Regions from separate parts of the Homo sapiens genome. Here all the other regions are linked to region 4. Evidence: promoter capture Hi-C in 16 types of primary human blood cells and fetal thymus (Javierre and others, 2016). All regions are on one chromosome and are shown on one strand. Each heading gives the region's core, a stretch centred on a gene start or on the middle of the fragment in contact. The rest is flanking DNA. Distances are from core to core; before and after follow the strand shown.

The links. The method cuts DNA at HindIII sites, captures the fragments that hold promoters and counts their contacts. A CHiCAGO score of 5 or more calls a contact.
Region 1: a fragment that was not itself captured here is called in contact with the fragment with the promoter of COX8C in region 4 in 3 of 17 cell types (monocytes, M2 macrophages and M1 macrophages); the score reaches 5.9 in monocytes.
Region 2: a contact is called between a fragment that was not itself captured here and the fragment with the promoter of COX8C in region 4, in 1 of 17 cell types (monocytes). The highest score is 5.3, in monocytes.
Region 3: a contact is called between a fragment that was not itself captured here and the fragment with the promoter of COX8C in region 4, in 1 of 17 cell types (M1 macrophages). The highest score is 6.0, in M1 macrophages.

Annotation. Positions count from the first base shown.
Region 1 is chr14:93,513,724-93,518,810 of GRCh38, reverse strand. All of the region lies in intron 7 of UNC79 (unc-79 subunit of NALCN channel complex), which reads right to left. Among named protein-coding and RNA genes, the nearest start is that of UNC79, 85 kb to the right of the region's middle. The HindIII fragment of the contact is 5,128 bases long and covers 1-4,634 here.
Region 2 is chr14:93,551,091-93,555,731 of GRCh38, reverse strand. All of the region lies in intron 14 of UNC79 (unc-79 subunit of NALCN channel complex), which reads right to left. Among named protein-coding and RNA genes, the nearest start is that of UNC79, 120 kb to the right of the region's middle. The HindIII fragment of the contact is 730 bases long and covers 1,104-1,833 here.
Region 3 is chr14:93,488,522-93,493,217 of GRCh38, reverse strand. All of the region lies in intron 5 of UNC79 (unc-79 subunit of NALCN channel complex), which reads right to left. Among named protein-coding and RNA genes, the nearest start is that of UNC79, 60 kb to the right of the region's middle. RefSeq lists an enhancer at 2,894-3,393. The HindIII fragment of the contact is 1,433 bases long and covers 1,058-2,490 here.
Region 4 is chr14:93,343,778-93,348,815 of GRCh38, reverse strand. It overlaps COX8C (cytochrome c oxidase subunit 8C), which reads right to left and starts at 1,634. Exons shown (of 2, transcript NM_182971.3): 1 at 1,422-1,634; 2 at 460-788. The coding sequence starts at 1,547. The coding sequence ends at 696. It also overlaps a transcript of UNC79 not described here. RefSeq lists an enhancer at 4,543-5,038. The HindIII fragment of the contact is 4,764 bases long and covers 1-4,624 here.

The DNA.
Region 1 (5,087 bases), core at 821-3,320, 170 kb before region 4:
CACACTTCTAAACAATTCATGAATGAAAGAAGAAACTTTAGAAAATATCCTGCACTGAAATACAATAAAAGCATAACATATATAATGAATTTCTGGGAAGCAACTAAAGCAATGATTAAATGGAAATTTATAGCTAAAAATTATTATATGAGAAAATATTAAAGATCTGAAATAAAAAGTTTATGCATCTCCCTTAAGAAGACAGAAAAAGAACAGAACTCAGTAGGTGGAAGAAAACAATAAAGAAACAGAAATCAATGAAATTGAAATCAGAAAATCCATAGATAAAATCAATAAAATCAAAAACTGGTTCTTTGAAAAGTCCCAAAAACTTGATAGGCCCCAGCATCCTGATGGACAAAAAAAAAATTGAAAATTCATGAATTACCAATATCAGGAATGAAAGGTAGAACATCACTACAGATCCTACAGACATGCTAATAAATTTGAAAACTTGGATGAGATGCTCACATTCCTTAAAAGACACAAATAACTCACTATAACTCAATAAAAGTAAAAAAAACCCATAACTATTAAAATTACATTCACAACATAAAACATTTCCCTCAAAGAAACCCCAAGTCCATATGGCTTCACCAGTAAATTCTATTAATCATTGAAAGAATAAATAATACAAATCTTACATAAACTCTTTCAGAAATTAGAAGAGAAAAAAACATTTTCCAACTCATTTTATGAGGTCAGTATTACTCTGTAAATGGAACCAGATGAAGACATCATAATTAAATAAAACAAAACAATATCTCTCATAAATGTAGGAACCTGAACACTTAACTTAGAAAATTAAATCTAGCAATATAATACAGCATGACAAGATGAGTTCATCCCAAGAATGCAAGATTGCATTTCACACACACACACACACACACAGACACACACACACACACACTCACATATACATATGGACCAAATGGAAATTCTAGAAGTGAAAAATATAACAGGGGGGCAGAATTTGGGGAATGTTGGTCAAAGGCTGCAAAACTTTAGAAAGAAAAGATATATAATAACCAAAATTAAAAACATAATTAGGAGGCTAAAGAATTTGAGAACAGGAAGACATGTCAGAAAAAGATTCAGTATGAAGCACAGAAAGATGAAATGGTGGGGGATGGGGAATACAAAAAATAGGCATAAAAGGCATAACGTTGCCAAGAAAATCAATGTAATTTACCATATTAACAGAATGAAGGGAAGAAATCATATAATCATCTCAATAGAAAGAGAAAATGCATTTGACCAAAACTGACATTCATGATTAAAGCTCTCAGCAAACTAAGAACAGACAGTAATTTCCTCAATCTGGTAAAAAAAAAAAAATCTATGAAAAACCTACAGTTAACATAATAATTTAATGGTGAAAGCCCAAATACTCTCCCCAAAGATTGGGAGAAAGAACAAGGACGTCCACTCTCAGTACTTCTATTCAAGTGGAGATATTAAGCAGTGCAAAAAAAAAAAAAAAAAGAGAAGGATAGAAAGAAAAAAAGGGAGAAAGGAAAGAAGGGTAAGAGAGAGAGAAAAGGAAAAGAGGAGAAAAAGAAAGAGAAAGGAAGGAAGGAAAGAAGGAAGGGAGGGATGGAGAAAGGGAGAGAGGGGTGGAGAGAGGGGAGGAAGGAAGGAAGGAAGGAAAAAAGAAAGGCATACAAATTAGAAAGAAAAGAAAAAAAATTATTTGCAGAGAGCATAATCAGGTATACAGAAAATCTCAAGAAACTTACAAAAAAGCCACAAAAACTAAGAAGTGAATTTAGCAAGGTTGCAGGGTATTTGTAGAGTACCAATAAACAAGTAGAAGATTAAAATTTTTAAACACTATTTATAATAGCATATAAAATCATAAAATATTTAGGAGCACCTTTAACAAAATATAATATCTGTACACTAAAAACCAGCAAATATTGCTGAAAGAAATTAAAGAAGACCTAAATAAATGGATAAATATACCATGTTCATGGATGAAAAGACTCAATATTGTTAAGATGTCAATTCTCCCCAAATTAAACTATATAGTCAATGTAATCTCATTCAAAAATCCAAGCAGAGGTCAGATGCAATGGCTCACACCTGTAATCCCAGCACTTTGGGAGGCTGAGGCAGGCAGATCACCCTGAGGTCAGGAGTTTGAGACCAGCCTGGCTAATATGGTGAAACCTCATCTCTACTAAAAATACAAAAATTAACCAGGCATAGTCACACATGCCTGTAATCCCAGCCTCTCAGGAGGCTGAGGCAGGAGAATCACTTGAACCGGAGAGGCAGAGGTTGCAGTGAGCTGAGATCATGCCACTGCACTCCAGCCTGGGCAACAGAGTAAGACTCCATCCCCCACCCCCCCCCCCAAAAAAAATATCCAAGCAGATTGTTTTGTAGAAATTACAAACTGATAGTAAAATTTATATGAAAATGCAAAGGTACTAAAATAGCCCAAAAAATTCTTTAAAAGAACAAATCTGGAGTACTTACACTACATAATTTTATGTATTAAAATAGCCCATAAAATTTTTAAAAGAGCAAATCTAGAGGATTTATACTACATGATTCTAAAATACACCGTAAAGCTACAGTAATCAAGATTATGTGATATTGGTATAAGGATAGACAATGAAACAAAATAGAGAGTTTAGAAATAGACACATACATATATGGTTAATTATTATTCAACAAAAGGGTCAAGGTAATTCAATACGGAAAAGATACTCTTTTCAACAAATTGAACTGAAACAACTGGATATCCTTAAAGGAAAAACAAATCCAACCCTTACCTCTTGCTATATACTAAAATTGATTCCAAATAGATCATATACTTAGATGTAAAATCTTAAACTATGTAACTTCTAGAAGCATAGAATTTCTTTACAACCTTAGGAGAGACCAAAAAAAGGACCACAAAAGAAAAAAAAAAGATAAATTTCAATTAATTTATCAAAATTAAAATCTCCTTCTCTTTGAAATACTTCAACAGGGAAGCCCCTGAATGAGAGAGCATATTCACATTATGTTGACAAAAGTCTTATATTTTGAACATACAATATAATAAGATAATAAAATAAACACCCCAATTTAAAAATGAGCAAAAAGTTCATTGGTAACTTCACATATACACACAAAGGGTAAGCAAACCTGAGAAGGTAAGAATATAGAGGGAAAGATAAATATATGAAATTAGTGGTTACAGTAGCCACAGAGCACAAACAATGAAAATCTGACCTAAGAATTATACCCTTTCACCAGAAGCAAAATTAAGTTCTCTCTGAAGGAATCCATCATACTAAGTCTCAAATTAGGTTTATAGTTTTTATATCTATTGTCTTGAACACAATAAAAAACAACCACACAAACAAGAAGACAAGAAAACAAAACAAAAGAAACAACAGACAAGAGAATCAGAATCTCCAGGGATCCAGAACACTGAGTCATCAGAAACAGATTTTAAAATAATTATGCTTAATATGTTCTATAAAGTAGAAGATAAGAGAATATCATCAAAGAACTGGAAATACACACACACACACACACACACACACATATACATATGGACCAAATGGAAATTCTAGAAGTGAAAAATATAATGGGGGGTAGAATTTGGGGAATGTTGGTCAAAGGCTACAAAACTTTAGAAAGAAAAGATATATAATAATCAAAATTTAAAACATAATTAGGAGGATCAAGAATTTGAGAACAGGAAGACATGTCAGAAACAGATTCAGTGTGAAGCACAGAAAGATGAAATGGTGGGGGACGGGGAATACAAAAAATATGCATAAAAGGATGTACGAGAGAAAGGTCTAACATAAATGCCATTAGAATTCCAGAAAGAGGGATGAGAATGTGTCAGAAGCCACTTTTGAAGAGATAAGGAAACTTCCAGTTACAACCATAATAAAAAGCTGGTATTGAACTTATCTTTCCACTGGACAAACTGGTTTCAGACATTGGGCATAGATACAGCACAGGGCTGCTCTCTTTTTTAAAAAGTAAAGCATACAAGTTAAGTTCTACATTCACCTTGGCTTTCTGCCTGGTGATATTTCCAAAATGCAGCATAGAAAAATGGAACTCAGTAAGAAATCAGCGTTTTTGGTGGGTAGAAGAAACAGATTTTCAGTGGGTAGAGAAATCAAAATAAAGAAATGCTAAGGCGGATGGAATTTGTGAGTAAAGGTAGAGAACAGAGGAGAGCTACCAAGAAGAGGTATCACAGATCAGTGGAAGGGCATCCCTCAGGTCTTTGGCCCGCATGTGCTCAGAGCAAACTTCTGCAAGGACTAGCAGAGAACTCTGCTCAATGGTTGAAAGCAGAACAGAGATTTTGGAGGTCACAAAGGGCTAGATATATGTTGTATTTCCAATGTAGCCAAAGCAAAGAGCTTTAGTGAACACATCAGAAATTCAGGAGACAATAGTTTGTAACAGATAGGTCACACCTTAGGAATAAAGACCGTGCTCTAGACCTAAGTTTATAAATTTGTAGACATAGGGTTGTTCATAGTAATCCTTCACTATCCTTTTAATGTCCATGAGATCAGGAAATAATAATATCTATTTCCTTTCTGATATTAGAAATGTGTGTCTAATGTCTTTTCCTTTTTCCCTGGTTAGACTGGCTAGAAGCTTATTGATTTTTTAAAAAACAGTTTTTAATTTTGTTGATTTTTCTCTATGTTTTCCTGTTTTAAATCTTACTGACTTGTTCTCTAATTTTTGTTATTTATTTTCTTATGCTTACTTCAGGCTTAAATTGCTCTTCTTTCTCTAGTTTCCTAAAGTAGAAGACTATAGCATTGATTTTACATGTTCCTTCTTTCTACTGTATGTCTTCAGTGCTGTAAATATCCCTCTAAACACTGCTTTTACTACATAACACAAATATTGAAGATAATGCTATAGGAGTCATAGTTATACACTAGGACTAAAGGCAAAACTGAAATATACTTGGCTTAACAAGTTATAAATTTAAGTCCTTGGGAAGAGAAGGGCAGAGAAGGAGAGGCTGGTTAACAGGTACAAACAGATAGAAGGAATAAGTTCCAATATTTGATAGTAGAGTAGGTTGACTATATTTAACA
Region 2 (4,641 bases), core at 219-2,718, 210 kb before region 4:
ATCTAAAATAAAATGAGAAAGAAATCTTGGCCAGGTGTGGTGGTTCACACCTGTAATCCCAGCACTTTGGGGGCCTGAGGCAGGTGGGTCACTTTAAGCCAGGAATTTGAGACCAGTCTGGTCAACATGGTGAAACCCCATTTCTACTAAAAATACAAAAATTAGCCGGGCATGGTGGCGTGCACCTGTAGTCCCAGCTACTTGGGAGGCTGAGGCAGGATAATCACCTGAACCCAGGAAGCAGAGGTTGCAGTGAGCCAAGATCACACCACTGCTCTCCAGCCTGGGTGACAGAGAGAGACTCCATCTCAAAAATTAATTTAAAAAAAAGGAAGAAAATCTTAAAAACTGGCAAATGAAGAATCTTATAACTCTACCAGATCTGCTTCTCTGTCTGTGTATTTATATGTGTCATGTATGTATGTGATGTCTTACTACCAAGATATGTAAAAGACATCCAATGAATTGGCTTAAAGAAAAATAAATGCTTAAATAAAATATTTTATCAGAAAAATAAACACTTTAGTTCACATGGCTTTAGTAATCTTTGGTAAATAAAGACAGTTTTAAAGACTATTAATGAAATAAAATTAAATGTCTTTAAAATTTAGGCATTCAGTCTAAATTAGGCAGGTCAGGAACTGCCCTTGCTAGATGCTTTAAGATTATAAACTGCTTCTATGACTTTTGATAACTGTTTGACTTGCCTGCTTTGGGGCCATTAGATTCTAGGTAAGGCCTGGGGATATATAGAATTAGACACACTCCCTAGCTATACTGGAAAAGAGTCACATATTACCTGTAGTTCCCAGGCTCTGCACTTGGTACAGAATTAAAGTTGCATACACTAAAAATTAAAATTAGGTGTTTTTAAGAAAAAGGCATGGGAATGTAGTTTTTAAAAGACAAACTATTTTGCCTAATTTAGAGGTTGTTTAAGGATTGTTTTGGGTTAAAAGAAAGATAGAATATAACTGAAAGTTTAAGCCAGTTAGAGATGGTTTGTGAAAGATTAATCTTGAAACAGAAATTCTGTGTATGAGCTAGTTGGCTAAAAGGGTATTATTTAGTTTTTCCATAAATTAAATATTAAAATAAAAGCTTGCTAACACAGGGCCAGAATCTGGGCTCATGTGTCAGAATAATAGGGTTTTCCTGGAGCATTTATCTGCTCTTAAACAAAAAATTTGCAAAGGGTTATAAAAATCTTACCTTATGGTCAAACTGGTTAAAATTAGATAGCTTCATCAAATGTTATTGAAATTAGCTTTAGTATTAATATACTAATGCAAAGGTAAAATTTCATTTTCCCTTTTGAGCAAGATTTTCATTCGCCTACAGGAAAAAGAGAGAGACAGAATTTTTTTTTTTTTTTTTTTGAGACAGAGTCTTGCTTCAGCCAGTCACCCAGGCTGGAGTACAATGGCATGGTCTCAACTCACTGCAACCTCCGCCTCCTGGGTTCAAGTGACTCTCCTGCCTCAGCCTCCCGAGTAGCTGGGACTGCAGGCATGTGCCACCACACACAGCTAATTTTTGTATTTTTAGTGGAGATGGGGTTACACTGTGTTGGCCAGGCTGGTCTCAAATTCCTGACCTCGTGATCTGCCCACTCGGCCTCCCAAAGTGCTGGGATTACAGGCATAACCCACCATGCCCAGCCATGCTGTCTTTACTGGGTCTGGTTATTTAGAAAGCTGAGTCCTCTCTCTGTGAAAGACTAAAGGATTTTTGCTGTTTAGAAATCTTTGAGTTAATCATGTTGGTTAAATAAATAAACTGTGGTCCTATTTTGTGATGTCAAGTGTTTTAAATTTTGATATTTGACAAGCTTTCCAAAATAAAATCCTGAATTAAGCCTTTTTTGACCTAATTAACCATTTTGTGTAGTAGGTCCTCTGAGGTCCAAAAGAGACATATGCAGCTTATTTGGTGTATCAAAACCATACAGGAAACACTATCACATTTAAAATGGTGTTTAGCTTTTTTTAGATTATAGTCACATAAATGTGTGATTAATATGTATTCCATAGTTATATGAGATTCCTATGATTCTGATATGCCTAAGTATCTGCTATCAATAACAATTAAGATTGTTACATTAAATTGTGTGCCACAGAAATGACCAGATTTCCCTGTTGATTGCATCTTTAACTGTGGCTGTCCTAAGACTCTTGTCATCCACAGACAATTGTCTTGTTTTAATCTATTCCAAAAGAAGATTTATAATCAGCTAAAGGACTCTCATGGATACTCTTGGATGCAGGTCTCTGACAACCTGGAGACTGAGCCATTAGAATAGAGGGAAAAACTTGTAAGACCCTCTTGGAGATCTAATGTGTCCATAAATATCAAGCAGAACAGGAGTTAATTTCATGGACTAAACAAATAGGAGATTGAAATAATCTGTTTATGACCTTTTCTTCCAGAAATGCTGCTGACCCTTTTTGTTTTGTTTTTCAGAGTCAAGAAAACTTTTTTCCCTTTTAAACCATTTACAACTTTTAACAATTGAGTAAACTACAACCTATAAGCAAAATTTTGAGCATGTTTCTTTCTCTCTACCTGATTTCTGCAGAATTTGGAAACTATATGTGAGTATTCTTAACTTATGGCAATATAGTTGTTTGCATACATGCAATAAGAATCTGTTTTCTTTTGTAACAGGACACAACTGGGGAAACTGGTTATTTTATCAAGGCTTTATGAGAATGACATGCTTTCATACTGCTTTTCTAAAAATTGAGGTTGACTTCTAAAGCCGATAAAACCCCATTGGAAAAACTGCCCTCATATCCTGTCTATGCAGTCCTTGTACAGGGTTCCTGACCTATGGTAAGTAAAGACTGTCACTTTCTAACAGGTCCAGGAGCCCCAAGTTATCTTTGGACTTCAAGAGGGGAGGAATTCACCCAATTCATACAAGTGTTTGCAGGCACAGATGAATCCATAGCTAGGCTCACAGCTTTAAAAAGTCTAATCTGAGAATCCTTACAAAACAAAGTTCCAGCAAAGCCAATTAAAAAAAAAAGTTTATATGGCAAATAATTATTCTTGCTGCACTTCACGCAAATAATCAAAACAAGTATAATGAAACTAAAGTTTAATTTGCAAACACATCAATCCTACAATAATTTGTCTTTGATAAAAATGAGAGACTGGAGAGAAAAAGAGTATAATATACCTGTTGTAGGTTCTAGTCTTATCTGTTGTTTTTGAGCTTTTTAATATTATTTTCTGAGCTGCAAGTCTCCAAACTAACATTTTAAAAATTTTCTTCCACTTTTCTGACTTAATGAAATTGCTACTACCTTTTTCCTAAGGCCCTGCAAACTAAGGCTTATTCTTTATAATACAAGCAAAAAAACATGAAAAATTGCCACCACCCTCCTCCATAACTAAAGATGCTTTGAGCCTAATAACTGGGTAGATTATGCCCACCATTAACAGTTGTTTTTCTTTTGTTTCCATAGAAATGTCTCTTATTAAAAGTATGTTTGCCTTATATTTCACACACCAGGAGACTCATTCTCCAGCCTATTCACTTAAATTCCAAATGGCAGCTGATTTCTTCTCATAGCATTATTAAACTGGACTTAGGCATTTTATTAATTATCACTGGGTGCTATTTGATTTTTAAAATAATTATTTGTTATATTCAACAGGCGTACAGATGGTTAAAGTTTATGCCTTCCAGGCTTCAACAGTTCTAAGTCAAGCTAATGATGGCCCAAGGATTCCAACCCATACCATCCCAGAAGGATTCTAGTCCCTACAGGTCTCTAGAACAGTCAGTGAGAGATTTCTATGTTCCTCTGAGGTTAGACAGGGACAACAACCCTGTTCAGCATAGCTGTTCAGTATAGCTTCAGAAGATGAGATCTTCAGCCCTTTTTCCTTAAGAATAAAGAGAGTGAAATATCTCAGAGGGGAATGAGACAGTAAGGGTGGGGCTTGGCTTCAGCTCACACCCACTAGAGCATTCTTTCATACATTCCCACTGATCTCAAAACCCACACCACTACCTCACCAATGCGTATCCATTAATAGTCATACAAAGAAAACAGCCATTCTGTATTGTTCTTCTGTGCTTTTATATGTTTAACCATGCCTCTTACTTAAACAATTCCAGACACTGGCCTTAGGAGATCCAAAATTAAACTAAGGTTCCTGAGTCTCCCATCTCGGGAAGGAATGCTGAACAACTGATTTACAGCCTTGTTGCCACTGGCCAGACCAGCAGGTGACCCATAACTCAAGACAACCATCACAACCAGCTTTGCTGACCTGCATACCCTACCTCTAACATGCACTGCCCAACCCAGCCTGTATACTCTACCGCCGATGTCAATTCCCATGCTTTGCCTTAAAAAAATAAATCCTGGCCGGGCACGGTGGCTTACGCCTGTAATCCCAGCACTTTGGGAGGCCGAGGCGGGCAGATCATGAGGTCAGGAGATTGAGACCATCCTGGCTAACACGGTGAAACCCCGTCTCTACTAAAAATACAGAAGATTAGCCGGGCTTAGTGACGGGCGCCTGTAGTCCCAGCTACTCGGGAGGTTGAGGCAGGAGAATGGCATGAACCCGGGAGGCGGAGCTTGCAGTGAGCCGAGATTGCGCCACTGCACTCCAGCCTGG
Region 3 (4,696 bases), core at 525-3,024, 140 kb before region 4:
GAGATTCCTCTTCCTGAACCGCCCCCCCTTGTAGGCCTTGTTCACATTATTCATCCTGCAGTTCTCAAACCAAAGGTTACTTCCTCAAAGAAGCCCTCCTGACTTCCTCAATAAAAGCAAAATTTCCTTTTATAACATCTTATAGTATAACATACTTGAAGCACTTGTCACAAGCAAAATTTTACACTTGATTTTATGATTATTTGATTGTCTTCTCGCCTCTCAACCCGACCATACGATAAGCTTCCTGAGATGAGGATGGGGTCAGTCCCATGTCACTAACCATGGAGCCCCCAGTGCCCAGTACATGGTGGATACTCAGTGACTACTGATTGAATGGTTGCTCTAGAATTGGAAATTTGGTCTTAAGCCATCACTGAATTCTCAAGTGCAGATGTTCCAAGACACTTTCTTGTACATAGTGTCTGCTGATCTCCACAGGTCTGCTATATGAACGTTGTTCAGAGCCATCACTGACCCATGAACATACCTGGACAGTTCCTTTGTTAAAACAGCTTCCCCTCCCAGAATGCCCCATTTACCTTATCAATAAAAACTCTGTCCAGCCAGGCATGGTGGCTCATGCCTGTAATCCCAGCACTTTGGGAGGCCAAGACAGGCGGATCACTTGAGGTCAGGAGTTCGAGGCCAGTCTGGCAAACATGATGAAATCCCATCTCTACTAAAAATACAAAAATTAGCCGGGCATGGTGGCATGTGCCTGTAGTCCCACATACTGGGGAGGCTGAGGCAGGAGAATTGCTTGAACCCAGGAGGCAGAGGTTGCAGTGAGCCGTGCCACTGCACTCCAGCCTGGGCAACAAAGTGAGATTCCATCTCGAAAAATAAAACAAAACAAAACTCTCTCCATAATTTAAAACTCATCCTTGGCCCAAGTGACGCAAAATCTTTTCTGATCATTTCAATCCATACAGCTCCCTCCTTCTGATAAATTAACACTGTCTAATATATTTATTTAGTACTCCTATGTACTACATTACATTGTTAACTAATGATTTATGTAAATATGCCTGATCTTCCCAATTAGACATAAGCTTCATAGCAAGTACCATATCTTATGTTTTTGTGTGGTTTTCACAATGCCTAGCACAAAGCCCTGTATATAGAAGGTGCTCAATGAATGCTGGTTACTTAAGTAAGGATTGTGTTCTATCCTTGATACACAATCAGCTACAAGGATCAAGTTGCCAGTTGTGCTTCTTCCAATAAAAATTCAAACAACAGAACCATGACCTACCACTTGGTCCCAGAGAGCCCCTGGTGGATATTGCCTCGCTTAAGTGCTTCCTATATCACAAGACTAGTTTTGGGTCCCAACTATGATTCCTAGTATACAGTAGCTGGTTATAAACATTTCCTCATGAACAAATGAAGATACAGATTTTAAAATAACAGATGCAACTCTACCTGACCACAGTAGTTTTCCAGTGAAACATTCAACTCAACATTCAACTCCAAGAAGAAAATGGCAAATTGTAGGGATTCAGTATTTATTGAGAATTTACAATTTGTCAGTCACTAAAGTAAGCACTTTACATATATGTAACCCATTAAATCTTCACAGCAGCATTTTAAAGTACTGCAAGAAGAATTATTTCCATTTTATAGATGAGGACACTTGGTTTCAGGGGGTAAAAAACTTGCTCAAGTTCACTAACTGGCAATTTGCAGGTAAGCTCAGATGTGAATCCACATACGACTAATCTCAAAGCACCCTGCTTTACTACCCAACTAGCTTAGAAATTTGGACCAGACTGGCATGATGAGACTCTAATTAACTAGATTCCAAATAAATGGTTTTATTAAGGACATAATATATAATAAATATAGTATTTTGATTATTTTAAGCCAGACAGATATATAAGATATAATTTCCCCATATATATATTTTAATTATATCTATATAATAATCATAAGAGATTTCATACTTAAAGAATGCTACAGACTGAATGTTTGTGTCACCTCAAAATTCTTCTGTTAAATCCAAACCCCCTAATGTGATGGTATTAGGATGTGGAGCCTTTAGGAGGTGATTAGTGCCCTTATAAAAGAGGCCCCAGAGAAATCCCTTGCCCTTTTGTCACTTGAGGACACAGCAGAACGACAGCCATTCATGAACCAGGAAATGAGTTCTCACAGATCATCCAATCTACCAGCACCTTGATTTTGGACTTCCCAGCCCCTGGAACTATAAGAAACAAATGTGCATTGCTTATAAGTCATCCAGTTTATAGAATTTTTGTTATAGCAACCCAAATGGACTAAAACAGAAAATTGGTACTGAGAAGTGGGGTGATGCTGTAACAAACAGCTAAAAATGTGGAAGTGGCTTTGGAACTGGGTAACAGGTAGGGGCTGGAAGAGTTTTGATCTGCAGGCTAGAAAAAAGCCTATATTGCCATGAATAGACCTTTAAAAGCAATTCTGGCAAGTGCTGAAAAAGAGAAGAGGAAAGCAGTAGAAAAAGCTTCAATCTTCTTTGAGAATACCTAAATGATCCTGAAGAGAATGTTAGTATAAATACGGACAGCAAAAGCAATTCTGATGCGATCTCAGACAGAAATGAGGAACACATTCCTGGAAAGTGGAGGAAAGGCCATCCTTGCTATAAAGTGACAAAGAACTTGGCTGAATTGTGTTCATGTCCTAGTGTTTTGTGGATGGTAGAACTTGTGAGTGATAAAATTGGATACTTGGCTAAGAAAATTTCTTAGCAAAGTGTTGAAAGAGAGGCCCAGCTGGATTTCTTCTGACTGCTTATACTGTAATAAAATGTGGGGAGAGAGAATGATCCAAAGACAGAATTGTTAATCAAGGAGGAAGAAGACTTAAAGATTTGGAAAACCCTCAGCCTATCTGTATTGACAGGATGAAGAAGCCTGTTAGGAAGAGAATGGGGAGAGTGTAGCCAAGTGACCATTTAATAAGATTAGTCAGCCATCTCAACAGAAGCCAGGAGGTATTGTCCAAAACAATGGAAGAATGACCCCAGAGGCACTTCGGAAATCCTCTGCACTGCCCCTCCCATCACAGACCCAGAGTGCAAGGACCCTGGGGGAGAAATGGTTTCAGAGGAGAGGCCACCAGCACTTTTGAGACTTCAGGGCATGCCACCCCCTCACAAGGCACCTTCTTACATTGTAAAATTCAGTCCTATACCCCAGTGCCTCATTGTTCAGCTGCCCTTTGGGCAGAGCAGCATGCACTGTACCCAGCAAAGGCATGGGGGTGTATTCACCTCCACCTAGATTTCAAAGGATGCCCAGGAGAGCTGGAACTCCACCCTGAGAGAGTCATGGGCACCGGACCCCAGCCTGCAGAGTGGGGCCCAGGAAGGGAACCACTGTGGGGGCCAGGATCACTGTAGAGAGCCCCCACCAGGGCAATGCCCAGCAAGCCATGGAGATAGAGCCACGCAAAGCCACAGGGGCAGGGTCTTGGGGGCCCAACCCCTACATGGCAAAGCTGCTATGCAGGGCCACCACCTCAGTGGGTCCAAAAGACAGAACTCTTACCCCAATGGGTTTGGAAGGTGGGACCTCCACCCCAGTGGGCCTGGAAGGTGGAGCATCAAGTCAAAAAAGGTAATTTTCAAACCTTAAGGTATAATGTAGTTGGGTTTTAGACTTACTTGGAACCTGTTACACCTTTTTTCTTTCCCATTTCTCCCTTTTGGATGGGAATGTCTATGCTATGCCTGTCCAACCATTGTATATTGGAGGCATATAACTTGTTTGATTTCATAGGCTCACAGCTGGAGAGGAAATTGCCTCACCCATATCTGATTTAGATGGTATTCACATGAGACTTTGGACTTTTGAGTTCATGCTGAAATGAGTTACGATTTTTGGGGCTATTGGGATGGAATGAATGTTTTGCATATGAGAATAACATGAATTTCAGAAAATAGGGTGGAATACTATAGACTAAATGCTTGTGTCCTCTCAAAATTTGTATGTTGCCAGACATGGTGGCTTATGCATGTAATCCCAGTACTTTGGGAGTCCAAGGCAGGAGGATCACTGAGGTCTGGAGTTTGAGGCCAGTCTGGGAAACATAATGAGACTGTCTCTAAAAAAATTTAAAAATTAGCCAGATGTGGTAACACATGCCTGTAGTCCCAGCTACTCAAGAGGCTGAGGAAGGAGAATCGCTTGAGCCAGGTAGGTCAAGGCTGCAGTGAGCCATAATTGCACCACTGCACTTTAGCCTGAGTGACAGAGTAAGACTCTGTATCTTAAAAAAATTTTTAAATTAGTATGTTAAACCCTAACCCTCAAAGTGATGGTATTCAGAGTTGGGGCCTTTAGGAAGTAATTAGGTCATTAGGGCAGAGCCCTTATGTATGAGATTACTGCCTTTATAAAGGAGGACCCTGAGAATTCCCTTTCCTTCCCACCATTTAAGGACACAACACCAAGATGGCCATCCATGAACTAGAAAGCAGGCCCTCACCAGACATCAACTCTGCTGGCACCTTGATCATGGACTTCCCAGCCTCCAGAAATGAGAAAAATAAATGTTTACTGCTTATCAGCCACTCCGTTTATATTTCTGTTACAACCCAACGGACTAAGACAGAAGATGACACTCCAAACTAAGAAGCATTCAGATTTTGAAATAAAAAATTTTTCCTCATTCTGAGTCAGAAGTTCAATTACTATTTATTAAGTAA
Region 4 (5,038 bases), core at 385-2,884:
AAGTCCCCATTACAGAGATAAGGAAACCAAGACTCAGAGTTGAACTATGTTGCCCATGATAACAGCATCATCAACAGCTAAGACAGTTCAAAGATGTGTATGATTCTTCAAACCTCACAGAAGACTAAGAGAAGATAATAAAATCATTAAAATAGGAGATGTACTCATTCTTCACATTCTGACGTGTAGTCATTTAAAGAGGCAAAGAAATGGTTGTACTTCTCACAGCAAATTGTGAAGTGTGGCATGGCAGTACTAATAGAACATAAAAACCATTTAGCTAAACTTATATTACCTCACAGCTACACATCTAATCTTTTAAGGGTGATGTCACTAGATACATTCACTCCCATATAGTAACAATGTCACTCCCTGAGTCACTAAGTCAGACCTTTCACAGCAGTTCTCGGTAAATTTTCATCAGCTTTCACGATGTTTAGAAAATAATCTGCACACATATTACCAAGCACGAATAAGTGTTTCCGTTTTATTTAACACTTAAGCAGAACATTTTTGACTATACATCTATATAATGCACAGTACTAAAAAAGTGCAAAATATTCATCATAAACATGAGGAAAGTGAATACCACAATGGTTGCATCAACTCAACTAGGCAATTTTGCTCGTTAACAAAAACACAGCTTTTTCTGAAAGTTTTTTGGACGTTAACAGCTGTTCAACATCATCTTCCATCTAATTCCTTCTGAACTGCTTCAGGTTGCCTAGCACATATGCAGCTGGTGTTAAGAAGGTCGTAAAAAACACCACAAGTCCAACAGCCATTTCCTGGAAGAGAAGATGACACGCGCTGCTGAGTATGGCTTCCTAGGCCAGTGACTTGCTGCCTAACAAAAAGTGCTTAAAAAAAACATTTTGAGCACCTAGACCGTTGTCCTAGAAACAGGCGCCTAGTGAAATCTAAAATGCTGAAAATCGATTCATGGATCACCTGATTTTTTTTTTTAATTCATTTTTCATCTAAGGGGTCTCCGGTTCCAACCTTCGCACTCTGGAACTTCGATGTGGCCCAGGATTTCCACCATTTTATCGAAAACGCTAGATCTTCGCAGTGCCGAGGACGTCCGAGGATGGTAAATCATTCCTCCGCGAAACCACAGCCCCGCCCCCGAGCCAGGTGCCGGTAAAGGGTAACAACGAAGGAGGCCCAATCCCCGCGCGTTCCTCAGGGTCCCGGGCTTTCCGCCCCTGTGCCCGACGACGGCATCCTCACCGCGACCCTCTCCCAGGAACCTCCCCCAAAGGCGACCAAGCCACAGGAACCTCCCCCAACGGCGACCAAGCCACAAGAGCCTCCCACGCGAGGCCTGCACGCCGTGTCCTCCCTTCTCCCCACCCGTCGGGGCGCCCCGCCAGGGCCACGCGCTTCCCGCCCACCATGATGGCTGGGCCTCAACTCACCGCGGCAGACAGGGGCCGCTGGCGCGGGGGCCCCGAGTGGGCGAAGCGGGGAGCGGGCTGCAGGCCGAGCAGGGCCAAGCGGCGGTAGTGGCGGCGGGCAGGACAGCGCCCACGCAGGAGAGGCATATCGCGTCAGGTGAGACAAAGCCAGGCGTGGACAGCACAGGTGAGGTGAGGCCAAGTAACGCAAGCTCCAGTGCTCGTGAGGCAGCTGGTTTGCGCAGGCGCCCCAGCCACGAGGGGGCGCTCTGCCCTCGCCCCCTACCCCACCCCTTCTGCCCAGCACCTCCTGCTCTGCCCCGCCTCTTCCGCTCACCACTCCTTTCTCTGTACTGCCCTTTCCACTCAGCAGTCCGTGCTTTGCCCCACCCCCTCTGCTTAGCACCACTTGCTCTGCACCACCCCTTCCACCCAGCACACCCCTGCTCTGCTCCACTCTCTTCAGTTCAGTACCCCCTGCTCTGCCCCGCCTTTTCCACTCAGGGCTCCCTGCAACCTCCCAGCCCTCATTCACCTCACTTTCCACCCACGTGTCCTATCCTCTCCTAAACTCTCCTGCCACCCTCCCCTGAGCCCCAACCCCACCTCACACTAAGTATCTCTTTTCTGCAGGGTAAGGTGAGGGACTTGGCACCCCTACTCCTTTCCTTTGTCTTCCTCTCTACCTATACTTTATATACCTCTTAACATGCCCTGGCATTGGCAGAGTTTATAGCACACTGTTTCTAATGCAAATTAAATCTTCCATAAAATGTCTATAGGTTAATTCTTAACACTGAAAACCAAGAACAAGTTTCTATAGTCGGCTGATGATATAAAAAATATTCATGGCAGGGTCAAATAGAGTGTTTGGACCCAGTAGAAACAGTGATGTAATTATCTGTCACTACGGCTAATTTTCTTATTTTTTTGTAGAGACAGGTCTCACTGTGTCACCCAGGCTGATCTCAAACTCCTGGGCTCAAGCCATCCTCTTGTCTCAGCCTCCCAAAGTACTGGGATTACAGGCATGAGGCACTGTGCCCAGACCCTCTTGAGGGAAAAGTAAATATACTGTGATTTTTAAATTTAGTACTGTAATAAAACTTTATCCACTACAATGATCCTGTGTCTTCACATTATTTCTTTTGGGGGCCTATTGCACGAGTAACACTCTAGGGTTTCTCTGGATTCCTCTGTTCCTGCAGCCTGGTATCTTCCTCTTTCTTAGATTTCTTTTCGTTTTGCTGTAGTACATCCTTAAGCTGTTCTTTCAGGAAGGGTTTGTAGGTGATAAAGTTCCTCAGTCCTTGGAAATCAAAATATATATATATTGGTCTCCATTTAAATGCTAATTTGAATGGTTATAGAACTCTGGGCTCAAAATCATTGTCCTTCAGAGATTTTCAAAAGGCATTGTTCCTTTCTTTTCCAGCATCTAGTGAGCCGATAAATATAATGCCAATATAGTTGTCATTCCTTTGAGTACCCTCTTTTTTCCTTTTGGGAATCTTTTAGGCATTCCTTTTTGTCTTTGGAATTGTGACGTTCCTCCAGGATACTGTTAGATATGGGTATTTTTCCATTCATATGGATTAGCAGTGGGTAAGACCTTTCTATCTGAAGTCATGGTTCTTTAGCCATAGGAGCACTATTCCTATTTATTTGCTTCTCTGTTTTCTTTGTTCTCAACCTAAAATTCTTATTGACGGACACTGGCCCTTCTTAGCGGGTCACCTCTGTCTTTCAACCTTTTTCTCACTCATCAACGTTTTGTCCCTTGTTCTACATTTTGCAGGATTTCCTTGACTTTTTCTTCTAGCCCATGATTTTTTATTTTAGAATTATAGTTTTAAAACATACTATTTTTTGCTTTTACAGTCACCTGTTAGTATTTTATAGATATTATCACTTTAGATTTCTTTCAGAATATTAATCTGAACTTTTAAAAAGTTATCTCTATTCCATGAACTGTGTTTCTTTAGCGTACATTCTATTTATTTATTTTGAACTTGCCAGTTTTATTCAAGTATCTTATGATCCTTGGTTGTCATTTCATGCTTATGAATATGAAGAAGCAGGTCAGTTACTTTTGTTCCTTTCTGTTACTGTCTCAGTCTGTTCAGGCTGTTACAATACAACAGACTGGATGGCTTATAAATGACGGAAATGTATTTCTTACAGTTCTGGATGCTAGAAATTCAAAATCAATGTGCTGGTAGATTTGATGTCCAGTGAGGGCCCACTTCCTTGTTCTGGTTGTGTCCTCGTATGATGGAAGCAACAAGGTAGCTCTCTAGGGCCTCTTTTATAAGGGTACTAATCCTATTCATGAGGGCTGTGGTATGATCTAATTACTTCCCAAAGGCCCCGCCTCCTAACTCTGGGGCATGTTTCACCATGTTGCCCAGGCTGGTCTTGAACTCCTGGCCTCAAGCAATCCACCTGCCTCGGCCTCCCAAAATGTTAGGATTACAGGAGTTAACCATCATGCCCAGCCCATGTTACATTTCCACTGGGCAACTGTGCTCTGGAATCTTACCCTAACCAATCAAGGACCTGCATGAACCATGGCTGGCCACCTCCCTAACCTCATCTCCTTGTTCTCAGTCTTCCCTTGGCTCATCCTGCCCAGTCACATCAGGTAAACTCTAATTTTGCCTTAGATATCCCCAGATAATAATTTGAGCACCTGTGATTTACACGAGTCCTGTAAGAAATGATTTAGTGCAACATTGCTCTGTTTCCTGGCCACAGTTGTTACACTACTTGACTCAAATATTGGACCAAAGAGAGGGCTGGGACCCAGTCTGTTGGTTGGGATGGATGTTGTAACTTGGGAGCCATGTTTTTTTTTCCCTGCCTAGCAAGAAAGCCCTTCCACAGTGAGTTAATAATGTAGCCAAGCTGCTCAAAGAACCAGAGATAAGAACCAGAGGGAATATCCTGCCTGTGTTCAAAGCCCTGGTTTGAATTCTCCCTATTCTGAAGTTAGGACACTTTCCTCTCCTTGAGTTCTGGGCCTCTCTTTATATACTTTATGATAAATCCTGCTTTGGGCTTAAACTAGGTGGTGCTGCATTTCTATTGCTAACAACAAAAGAGCTTTAAGAAAGACGATATTAGTCAAGACTTTTTTCTTTGGGTAATACCCCATTTTTAATTTTTAAAAAGCAACAAAAATTCTGAAGTAAAGTGAGAAAGAGCCCAATAATAGGCAAGCTTGACTGGTTTAATCCTAATCTTGAGAAGTTTAGAAGAGAGTGCAATTCAAGTGAGATTTAAGCATTTTAGGTCTTTCTCTGTAACAAAAGCCTTAAAACACTTTCGACAGTGGTGACTCCAAATTCAGCCACAACACAATTAAGCTCCCTGCCACCCACCCCCACCCCAGGAGACAGCTCTTTTAGCTGCTCAAATTACCAATACAAACAACATTCCTCAGTTTAATTTCTGCAAGTCACAAAAGACTAGCACTGTTAACTCAAACCTCTACAATTTTCAATAAAGGGTTTAGTGGGCTGGGATTCGATGTATTCTCAGTGACCCACAATGCAAGAACTTCCTTCTGCAGTTATATAAAAGAACTTAATTAGAGCTATAACCTAGAGATCAGGTTTTCTGAGCTGTATGTACAC